2 separate regions of the Homo sapiens genome follow, and region 1 is linked to region 2. Evidence: promoter capture Hi-C in 16 types of primary human blood cells and fetal thymus (Javierre and others, 2016). All regions are on one chromosome and are shown on one strand. The core of a region is centred on a gene start or on the middle of the fragment in contact, and the rest is flanking DNA. Distances in the headings are between cores, read along the strand shown. Region 1 has its middle 13 kb from the start of C13orf42. Region 2 holds the start of NEK5 (NIMA related kinase 5).

What was found. Contacts are between HindIII fragments. The CHiCAGO score rates a contact against its expected background, and 5 or more counts as called.
Region 1: a contact is called between a fragment that was not itself captured here and the fragment with the promoter of NEK5 in region 2, in 1 of 17 cell types (naive B cells). The highest score is 6.8, in naive B cells.

What each region holds. Positions count from the first base shown.
Region 1 is chr13:51,121,444-51,128,065 of GRCh38, forward strand. It overlaps a transcript of C13orf42 not described here. Among named protein-coding and RNA genes, the nearest start is that of C13orf42, 13 kb to the left of the region's middle. RefSeq lists a silencer at 4,395-4,444. The HindIII fragment of the contact is 741 bases long and covers 1,156-1,896 here.
Region 2 is chr13:52,127,785-52,132,685 of GRCh38, forward strand. It overlaps NEK5 (NIMA related kinase 5), which reads right to left and starts at 1,289. Exons shown (of 24, transcript NM_001365552.1): 1 at 1,245-1,289. LOC101929657 (a long non-coding RNA gene) reads left to right here and starts at 1,111. Exons shown (of 2, transcript NR_110306.1): 1 at 1,111-4,273; 2 at 4,674-4,901. It overlaps NEK3 (NIMA related kinase 3), which reads right to left. Exons shown (of 16, transcript NM_002498.3): 16 at 4,863-4,901. RefSeq lists an enhancer at 4,567-4,901. The HindIII fragment of the contact is 11,669 bases long and covers 1-4,130 here.

The sequences.
Region 1 (6,622 bases), core at 276-2,775, 1.0 Mb before region 2:
GGTATTTTGGAAATACATATCAAAATCCTTAAAATTGTGCATTCACTTTGATTTGGCTATTCCACTTCTAGTACTCTAGCCTGAAAAAAATTTTCTTTTTTTTTTTTTTTGAGACAGAGTCTCACTCTGCTGCCCAGGCTGGAGTGCAGTGGCGTGGTCTCGGCTCACTGCAACCTCCACCTCCCGGGTTCAAGTGATTCTCCTGCCTCAGGCTCCCGAGTAGCTGGGATTACAGGCAAGTGCCACCACGCCTGGCTAATTTTTTGTATTTTTAGTAGAGACGGGGTTTCACCATGTTGGCCAGGCTGGTTTCAAACTCCTGACCTTGTGATCCACCCGCCTCGGCCTCCCAAAGTGCTGGAATTACGGGCGTGAGCCACCGCAACTGGCCTCATAAATTTTCTACAGCTGAGAATTAGCTAAATAAATTACACTTGTATAATGGAACACAGCAGTTACTAAAAATGATGTCTTAGAGCAATAATTAATAATGTAAAAAGATATTCACAATGTAATAAGCGGAAAAAGTCCAATGTAAAACAGTATATACAATACATTCCCTTTTACGTGTCTGTATAATAAATATTTCATGTATTAAGTACACAAATGTGTTGTTTTGAAGTCATGTAGAAAAAGAATATTTAAATACACAAATATTTTTAGTATATTAAGAGAAAAAGGAAGGTTGAAAATATACAAATAGTAAATACGGTATAATGTAAATGCTGAAAATATATATTTACATATATAAAGAATATATATCAGAAATATATATGACCAGAATATATGATTAGAAAAGAAAGCATTGGGCTGGGCACAGTGGCTCACGCCTGTAATCCCAGCACTTTGGGAGGCCGAGGCAGGTGGATCACTTGAGGTCAGGAGTTTGAGACCACCCTGGCCAACATGGTGAAACCCTGTCTCTACCAAAAATACAAAAACTAGCCAGGTATCATGGTGCATGCCTGTAATCCCAGCTACTCAGGAGGCTGAAGCAGGAGAATTGCTTGAACTCAGGAGGCGGAGGTTGCAGTAAACCAAGATTGCGCCACTGCACTCCAGCCTGGGCGACAGAGCAAGAACTGTTCCAAAAAGAAAAAAAAAAAAAAGAAAGAAAAAAAGGAAAAGAAAGAAAGAGAAAAGAAAGCACTTATAAGCTTAAAAAATTTTTTTAAACCGTCATCTTGTTATAAAGTGCTAGCTCAGCTGTTTTGTGCTTGAATTCCTGCCCACTACAAGTAGATTTGACTGATAGATCAAGCTAGAGCCTTATCAATTCCCCTGAAATAACCTGTGACCAGTCTTAAAATTGGATGGTAAATCCTCAGGGCCTTGTGGATCTCTATTCTGATTATTTCTTTTCTTCAGTTCTGTTCTTGTTTCTGATTATCATGTTAGAAACAATTTTTAAAACACCCACTGTTATTCTATCCTCACCAATCTTGTGGTGATCACTTCACCGTCATCTAAAGTCAAACCAAGAGGCGGGGGCAGTGCATGCTGAAAACAATGGGGGAGAAAGGAGATGTTCTGATAGCATTAGAAAGATGGATTGATACTTGTGGTCTGTTTTGCCCACTGCTGTATCTCCCTAGCTAATCCGTTTTCTTTGATCTTATCCAGAGAGCAAGCTAAGCCAAAACCACACGTGGTGAATGATTAACCAACGTACAAGGCAATCTGAAAAAAGTTCCTCCCCTCCCCCAGGGACCCTAGCACTGCTCATGGTTCTCACTCTTGTTACAGGTCGGTCAGGATGGGCTACTTTTGCTGTGACAACAAATAACTCCAAACTCTTATTGGCTTATTACACAGATTTCTTTCTCAATCATATTGCATATCTATTGCAGATCAGCTGGGGGCTCTGCTTAGCCTCTTGGGACTAAGGCTGACCCAAGCTTCATCTCAACAGATTGATCATGGCAGGGGGAAGACAGCATGGTGAATCATGGATCATTCCTAAACCTTCCAAATGCAAATTACACACATCACTTCTGCTCACACTTTGTGGACCAAAGCAAGTCATATGGTCTCTTCAAATTTCAAAGCAGGTGGGGAAATACAATCTTAGCATGTGCCTGGAGGAGAGCCAGAATATTTGTGAACAGCCCTAAAAATGCCTGTGCATCATCACGGTTTGTGTATTCAAACCATTTCTCCCTTTTAGTTCAATGTCAGCTCACATGGGGCAGGAATAAATTCTTCTACATAGTTCAATCTGCCTCTATCACCTAACCCAATTCCTGACACACCTCAAGTACTTACTATTTATTGAGCGCATGAATGAATAATTTGTCCCACATAATGGAAACCACCTTTGCAAAACTATAACTGAGAAAATTATGACAGTGAAAGATATCAGACTTAACTGAGCCCATCTTGCTTCTAACCTCTAAACAGTCCTTGTTCATCCCTGGGCGTAGTCTGAACTAGCCTTCGGAAGGAATTTAGTTTATAGTTTAAAGCTAAACTGTCCCCGTAAAACAAATGAAAAGCTACCAGCCACCAAGTTAGAATAAGAGGGGCTGGAATTCTAAATATTACCAGCCATTATTCCGGAGGTTATAAGATTTGCAACTTCCCCACTTACTCTTGAAGGTAACATCACTATTGTGAACCTAGGATCCACCTTTTGAGATGTCTTTTCCAGTTTTTGCATTTCTAACAACTGAATAACCCCACCTGAACCTGCCAACCAGTTCTGTGGCCCCACCCAGGAACTGACTCAGTATAAGAGAACAGCTTCGACTCCCTACAATTTCATCCCCGGGCCAACCAATCAGCACTCCAGATTCACTGGCCGACCCACCAAATTATCCTTAAAAACCCTGATCCCCAAGTTTCCGGGGAGACTGATTTGAGTAATAATAAAACTCAGGTCTCCTGCACAGCCAGCTCTGTGTGAATTACTATCTCTCTATTGCAATTCCCCTGTCTTGATAAATCGGCTGTCTAGGCTGCGGACAAGGTGAATCCACTGGGCGGTTACATAATGAGGAGGTAAATGTAGGAATTTAGGTGCTTTCAGGTTGTGCTACGTTGTTAGTTGTCAGCTTTTCATCACTTTCATCTGCTTCTCACTGAATCTTCCTTTCCTGGAATCTCCTGCCTTTTACAGGTTGAGCTCAATTTTCCAATGAGAGAAATTTGCCTAAGCTTTGGAAGACAGTGAAGAGAGGCAATCCTCCTCAGGTCATGGGGGCCACAGCAGACACAAGGTTCACAGTGGCATCTAGGCTTCTTATCAAGCACCAGGTTTGGTAGGAGGTTTTCCAGAGTTTCTTGAAAATTTTCGCAGCAGTTTCCTGGCAAATGTTAGAGAACCACCCACTTAGGTATTCGGTCTGACCTTCCAGCTGCTTCCATGACCTTCCAGCTGGTTTCACTCCCCCAGCTCTTGTTCCTTCATACAAACCCTAATTCTTAAATTAAACCTCGTTGTCCCCATAACACACAGAGTGGCTTTAATGCAGGGTCTTCCTTTATTTTTTCTGAGGGTTAAATGAATTTTTTTTTCCTTTTGGTCACACATCAAAGAAACTTGTTACATTTACTCTGTAAGCAAGCCCTCTATGTAAGGTTTACTAGTGTTTTTCTTCTCAAGTCTTAGCTGGAAAAAGGGCCTAAAGATCGTTTCAGAGCTCTAAAGGTACAGTACCTGCTAGCAGCCTGCCTTGCCTCTCCATTCATTAACAGCCTCTCTGCTGGGCGAAGGTGCCAGTCTTATCTGTGACAAGTAAATTAGGAACAGGTATAGCTATAGGTCATAAATCTTTCAAGGTTTGCAGGAAGATTGGCAAACGTGTCTATCCTGACCTATAATTGCATTATCTTCCCACTAAATTCTCAGCTCCCTAGTTTGCCCCTTTCAGCAAAGCATGTTATTTTCTTCTTCTTGGAAGGAACTTGAGTGAAACTGCTACTTCACATCAAATATTGGTGCCTGGTTCAGTTGAGGATTTTAGGGCATAGATTATGCTTGTCGAGAATGTATATTTTATCCCTACACTTTTAAACTCCCTTTGAGTGGAAAATGGCTGGCCCTTTCAATGCTGTAACTCAAAAAGCTGATGGAGAGAAGCCACACACCTCTCTAACAGTGCTGGGTGGATTAATCAATTGCTGAAAGTGAATATTAAAAAAATTCAAGACTCAGCATGATTCTCAGTGCTTGTGAAGAATCACTCAGGTCACTGTGGATGCCAGCACCAAGCTCCACCCCCCAGTGTCTACGAATCAACATCTACAGCACCTAGGCTTATCCTTTTAATCAATCAGCAAATATTTGCTGGGAGCTACTCTGTGCTCATCACTGCCCTGGGCTCTGTGAGGGTTTTCCTTGGACTGTTCCTTCTCTGTCTCCTTCACAGTTTTCTCTTCATCTATCAGGTCATTAAATAAATGCAATGACAACAGCTAACTGAGCTCTTAATATGGTGACTGTTTTCTCTCATTTGGCTGACCATGCGAGTCTTCTCAAATGCACCAGGGGGCAGCACGTCTGCAGGATCAGCCCTGGTCCTGCTCCGTGTGAATAGCAAAGCAAGGACAATCCACGCCATTACAATAACAGGTGCACCAAGATGGAGAGGAAGCCTGTCAGAATTAGTGAATGTATGCAAATTTCATGTGCCTGTGTGCCTACGTGTGTGGCCGGGTGGATGTATATTCACATCTTAAAAGTTGTGGCAAAGGCATTGCCACTATTTTGTTTAACATGCATTGAGCACCTACCATATGCCAAAACTGGTGCCACTTGCCTTAGTTTTTGTCTTTAATATGAAATTATTTATAATTAGCATTTTATATGAACAGCAGTGCCAATGAAATGCATTGAGGTGTATTTGTTTTGACACTGAAGTAAAATAAGCATTTCCCTCTAATCTGTTGACTGCCATTTAAATGGCTTATAAAGCACCTATTCTATTAAGAATAACATTTAAAATTAGTTACATTCAGGCAAAACTCTATCTTTAATGAGCTGGGGATGAGACAGAGACGCAGGAGGGCATATTAAAATTATTTCCTTGAAGTTAAAACATTCCAGAATTTACCTACAAATTTAAAAAGCATTACCTTCAGCTCCATTTGTTAAATTGTCCACATGCATCCAGGGTTCTGTGATGCTTTATTTGCAAACAGGATGTATTCACAAATGGAAGGTGCTAGGCAAAAAGGAAGCCCCTCACCAGGTCCAAAATAACTTCTGAGAGTGCTGCCTGCGTTGTCCTGGGCTGGGAAGTGGCTACCCAAGGACTGAGGGCCAGGGACGATGGGAGTGAATTACCAGGGGAGGTTCTTGCCCAAGACTGGGGGAGATGGTTGCCAGTTCTTTTTGATGGACCAAGGCCAATGCCACACCTGATTATTTCTGACAAATGAAGAATTCAATAGTGGTCAAGGGCCAGGTGTCTGAGGAATTTTAAAAGATGAGAGAAGGGCCTGGTGCAGTGGCTCACGCTTATAATCCCAGCACTCTGGGATGCCAAGGCAGGTGGATTCTTTGAGCCAAGGAGTTCAAGACTAGCCTGTGTAACATGATGAAACCCTTCTCTACAGAAAAGAAATACAAAAAGAGCTGGGCGTGGTGGCAGGCGCCTATAGTCCCAGCTACTCAGGAAGCTCAGGCAGGAGGATTACTTGAGCCAGGGAGGACAAGGCTACAGTGAGCTGTGATCACACCACTGCACTCCAGCCTGGACCACAGAGCAAGACTGTGTCTTAAAAAAATAAAAATAAAAAAATACGAGACAAGGCGGAAGAAATGGAAAGGGCCACAGAGAAGTTGTAGCCACATCTTGAAGGAATAACAACCAAGAAGGAATAACAACCAGCCTCAGTCTAGGCAATTTACCGACTCACTCAATCCTGATGATAGCAACGAGGAGGTAGATATTAGTATGACCATTCCCATTTTTCAGAAGGGAAATGGATTCACAGAAAGATTGTGTAACTTGTCCATAGCCATACAGCTAGTAGGGAAGCTGGATTTGAGTTCAGGCAGGCAGCTCAGGGTCCCTTTTTATCCTCTCTACTACCCTGCTTCTCTGTGTGTGAACCACAAGGAAGACTGGCTTATTAGTCAGTGGAACCTGACTCTGAAAACTTTATGAAAATAATTATGAGGCAAACACTGCAAAGTGTTACCTTCCATGAAATCTAGGTGGTGGGGGTCTTGGGTGTCCAATATATTACTTCCTCAAATTTTGAAATATGTTAATAATTTAAACAATTTATATGCCTATAAGACAATATAGTATAAAATTTACATTTTTAAAAAACTATACGTATTGAAAACATTACATTAAGTGAAATGAGCCAGGCACAAAAGAACAAATGCTGTATTATTCCACTCATTCTAGGTACCTGTCAGAGGTGTATGAACCAGAGCAACTCCATCTTGAATAGGGGCTGGGTAAAATGAGGCTGAGACCTAATGGGCTGCATTCCCAGAGAGTTAGTCATTCTAAGTCACAGGATGAGATAGGAGGTCGGCACAAGATACAGGTCATAAAGACCTTGCTGATAAAACAGCTTGCAGGAAAGAAGCCAGCCAAAACCTACCAACACCAAGATGGCAACAAGAATCACCTCTGGTCGTCCTCACTGCTACACTCCCATC
Region 2 (4,901 bases), core at 39-2,538:
TGGAATAACAATACCTGTTTTGCAAGTTTGTTCTGAGAATGAAAGATACTATATCCGGTGTTTCGCACCTTTATAAAGCAGGAATGTCCTTAGGCTTGTGCACTTTTATAGTTCAGCCTTTCTTAGTGGGGACGTACTGCCCCCTAGGGGGAATTCTGGAAATATATGGGGGTGGGGAAGCTGTTTCCCCAAGATTCAGAGGCATGAGGTTTACAGGTGGTTGGGGCCTGAGATGGTAGGATTCTGCGATTCGAGAGACAGTCCCGCACAATAAAGGATTACCCCGCGGCCCTACAATCTTGGAGAGTCTTCCTATACATTCCTGTGCGTGGAAAAATCCGTTTGTGGCTAGAACCAAACTCTATTTTACATCGAAATGCTAAGTATTTTTGCAGTTTTAATGAACACTTCTTTTTTTTTTCGAGGAATGCAACTACATGTAAATCAAGGCTTGATTGCACTTCGGTTTGGAGGTTTACCAAGAATTGTTCACCATTTGGGAAAACCACGCGCTTCACTGGCCACGCTGCTCCTGGTCCCGGAGACCCAACAATCTGCATTTGCTGCCGTCACGTTCAGGCGACTCCCCAGGCGCGGCTACTGGCTACTTCTCTACATTTTCCAAGGGTAGTAGTGCCAAGCATTTTCAGATTGAAATATGTACTTTCTTACTTATTGCTTTCCTTCTATTTCCTCTTTATGCTACAGTTAGGGCATAATACAGTTTTGTTGTTGTTGTTAATGGGGTGAGCAGGGGGCTTGTTTTCGAATAATTTTACGTCAGGGTGGGAAGTCGGTACTGGGTTGCAGGGGGCTGGGAACCAGCTCCGCAGCCAGGAGAGGCTGCAGACACCGGAGGATCGGGTTCTGAGAGAGACGCATACGGACTTGGGGCCGGGGGTGACTCGCCGGGAACTGAGGGCCCGCGACCCTCCCGCCCAAGTGGCACCAAAGGGTGGAAGCCCCCAAATTAGGAAAATTCCTTCTCCCCTAGGGCCGCCCCTGGAAGCGGCCGCGGGTGAGTGGCAAGACGCTTACCCGTACCCGACCTCCGCGTGTGGAGCGTTGCCATAGAGACCGACGCGCCCTGGACGCTACACCCACACAGCCCAGGACGCTAGGCCTTTTCTGGGCCGCCCCCGCCGCCCCAGGCCGAAACTCCATCCCTTTCCCCCACCCTGCCGAGCTCCCGAAGCCCTGTGGCGGCTCCGGGCAAGAACTAAGGGCGGCCCCTGCAAGCGTACCTGCTCCGCCGGCTCCGCGGGGCCAACGAAGCGTCCCGGAAGGATCCGGGTTCCCGGGGCCGCTGCGCCTCCCTGCGGCCGGGGCGGAGCCGCGCAAGGAAACGCGGGCGGGGCGCGGGTCTGGAATGGCCTGGGGACCAGTCCACCTCGAGGCAGGGTCAGGCGCCAGGGAGTTTGGAGACCCGGCAGAGTCACCCCGCAACCGTCCCGTTGCCTTGGGTCGGGATTCCTTTGCTTTGCAGTCTACAGTAGCGCTCCCCGCTCTTGCTTAAGGTGCACCAGACGCTTCGCAAACGTTCTCTCTTTTCTTTACAACCCGTCAAGGCAGTAGTCTCCCAGTTTTACAAATGAGCTAAACTGATACAGGAAGAGTGTTTCTTGTACAAGGTCTCAAATATTGCCAAAAGGTGGACGTGAGACTGGAACGGCTTCCTACTCTTTGGGCCACAGCGGCGGCCTGCCAAGGGACTTTCTAACGAAACCGGCGCTGCCCAAGCGTCTGCACTCACGCCCAGTGCTCATCCCACCCTGCCCCATTCTGGATTTGCACATCAAGCTGCTGTCTAAAATGTTTAAGTAGTTGAAAAAAATGTAATTTTCAGCAATTGTAAATAGTGACGCAAGTTAAATATATCCAACTGAATCGAAACACTACAGTAATATGGTACCCTCCATCGTCCACCTCACACACACACACAAAAAAAACCCACAAAAAACTCTTAAAAATCCTAAGTTTACATCATTACTCTTCCTTCTTAAAATCATCTCTCCGCCGCCCCCTCCCCGTCCCTGCCACAAAAAATTTCTTCTTCTTGTAAGCACTCTAGTCAAGTTGGATTAGGGCTGAACTAAAGGCCTCATTTTGATCTAATTGCATCTTTAAAGTCTCTGTCTCCGAATATAGTCTCATTATTAGTTATTGGTGTTAGATTTCAGTGTGTGAATTGGGGGTGGCCGCGGCGGGGGTGAATGCAGCCCGTAGCAGGAGTCCAAAAGTTGTTTAGCAGTTGGAATATCCAATGTTAGTTTCTTTGGCAGTGAAATTCCCTCAAAATATTAGTAGGTATATGATCTACTTGTTTTTGTTTAATTACACGTGTCAGTGACCACACCCAAATTTCTTCCCTAGAATTCTTAGACATGCTTCATTAAATCATATCTTCATTCTACTTTCCTGATAGAATTTTACCCGTTATCTTTTTCATACTTGAAAGTCTTATTGATCATCCTATCATACTGCTGAAAGAAGTACAGAAATGGAAATTTATATTTCCTGCTCATAGAATTTTAGTTTTTCTGGATTAAATTGTTAAAATTACTAGTACTACACAATTGATCACAATAAAATGTATCACAATACTGATAATTATTAAATATAAAAAATAAAATTGTATTGAAAATTCATCTCTTTAAGACCTGGATGGGCTTCCCATGCACCGTTAGTTCCTGTATCCATAGATGAATGCTAACTTCTTGCTACAATGAAGTTTAACACTGATTCTCTTCCATTTTCTTAAGGCTGTAAGTGCTGAGAAATAAGTACATAGGAATGAAAAGTTTTGTTAAAAGTGTCCCTCAATTTTTGTCTAGTTGTATCTCAAGAATCATATAGTAATCTGTCACCAAAACTGGTTTATAATCATGAACTGATAATTCCATTAGTCTTCTGAAATTTTATTAAAAGCAAAACCCCATAAGCCATTCTGATTTTGAAAAGGATTTATTATCCAATACTTATCCAGTCTCTCAGTAACTGTACATAATTTCAAGTTTTTTTTGTTTGATGGTTTTGAAATGTTTATGCCCTTGGGCAATGCCAAGATTGAAGATGACTAAGAGGTATGGAATACAGTATATATGGAAGCTGAGTACCTGGAAATGTCCTTAAAACTATCCATGCCTGCTTTAACTTGAAAAATCTTCAAGAGAGTAGTAAGCTAATTTCAAAGAGCTAACCCAAGTAATTTTGGGAAATGGTATTTGACTGGAAACTATGAGACAATAGGAAAGATACATAAACTCTGTACCTTAGTTGGTAAATTTGTTTCTCCCAGGGGTATGGGTTAATGATTTGGAAACTGCTTTACAAATAGACTAGGATTGAACAGCTAAGCAGATGGCGGATGGTACAAGCCAGTTTTCTCATTGTCAGGGAGAGAAGTTACAGAAAAGCGTGAGAAGAAGGCTAGAATGAACCTTGTAGTACTGGGTTAGTTGGAGACATCAGTATGGACCCATGCTTAATTTAATGTATGTACAGATGGAGAGATACAGAAATAACTGTAGAGATGTCTGGATGGATATACAATTATACAGTGTATACAGGTTAGTATACACATATATACTTCCTAGCTCTGTCTGCTGAGAGGGCCTAGAAGCAGTGACACCCCAGGAGCAATAAGCACACCCAGCACCCAGATCTTGGTTTCTAAACCAGTGGGAACCTTGTTGAAATGGATGATTTTGGGGCTGGGGCAGAGAAGATAAAGATGAGTCTGGACCATCTTGTAGTGCCAGAAAGGAAGTGCTCCAAAAGAACCAGCGCACCTCAAAGGGACACAGGAGGTGACCTGAAACAATTCCCAACGGCCAAAGCTAGAACAATTTAAGCAAGAAAACAAACGACTTATTATTGGATTATACTCCCACCCCCAGAGGTGGAGATTAATTCCTTTGCATTTGACTATGAGCTGGAGTGTGTGACTCACTTATAGTGAACACAGCATGAACATGGAAAATTATGAAGTTGATAGTGAAGAGCCTGGCAGACACTGCCTTCATCAAGTGATCAAGGTGAACGACACCAGGAAGAAGTCATGCTGATGCTCCCTGAAATGATGTGATGAGAAGGGCACTTCACCTTTGTGATTTTCCCCAAAATCCATAAGCTTAGTCCAATTGTGAGACAAACCCAAATTGAGCAACAGTCTACAAAATACCTAAGCAGTACTCAAAAATGTCAAGGTCCCGAAAAACAAGGAAAGATTTAGAGACTGCCAGAGACCACTGGAGATGAAAGATATCTAAATGTAAATACAGCGTATGTGTGAGGTGGAGGGTTGGTTCTATACCACAGGTTTTACATGTTAAGATTTAAAAACTGTTAAATCTTTAAAAGATGTATATATTCCAGATTTCAGCAACTGCTTGTTAATGACCCTAAATGTATTTTCCCCCTACTCTTCACTTTAGCACCGTTCCCTGTATTTGGCTGGCTCACGTCTCTTTGAGAGGTGTTGAGCGAAGCCTGTTTCTTTAGTGAAATATTCTCATCTCACTGAAGTGCACACTATTAGATGAGGTTCACACACGACAGGACCCAGCACGTGTGCGCCATGCCTCCTCCTATTCGTTCCACATCACTCTCTAGTTTCTGATATTTACCATTAACTGCTCCTCACCTCTGGCCTCTTCCTTCCTCATCTACAGGACTGCCATCTTCTGACAAGATCTGCAGACCACCCCAAGCTTCCCAGGGCTGACCCTCCAACCCAGGCTCTTTTGTGCATCCTATGAGGGACTGTATTTAAGGACAGCTGGTAGTTGGTGAAGATCATTGGAATGATCTTCAAACTACTCAGAATCAGGTCATATTGAAAAACTGCACACATTACTAAATCATAATTAAATATATTTAATTCTCAAACCTTTAGGAAA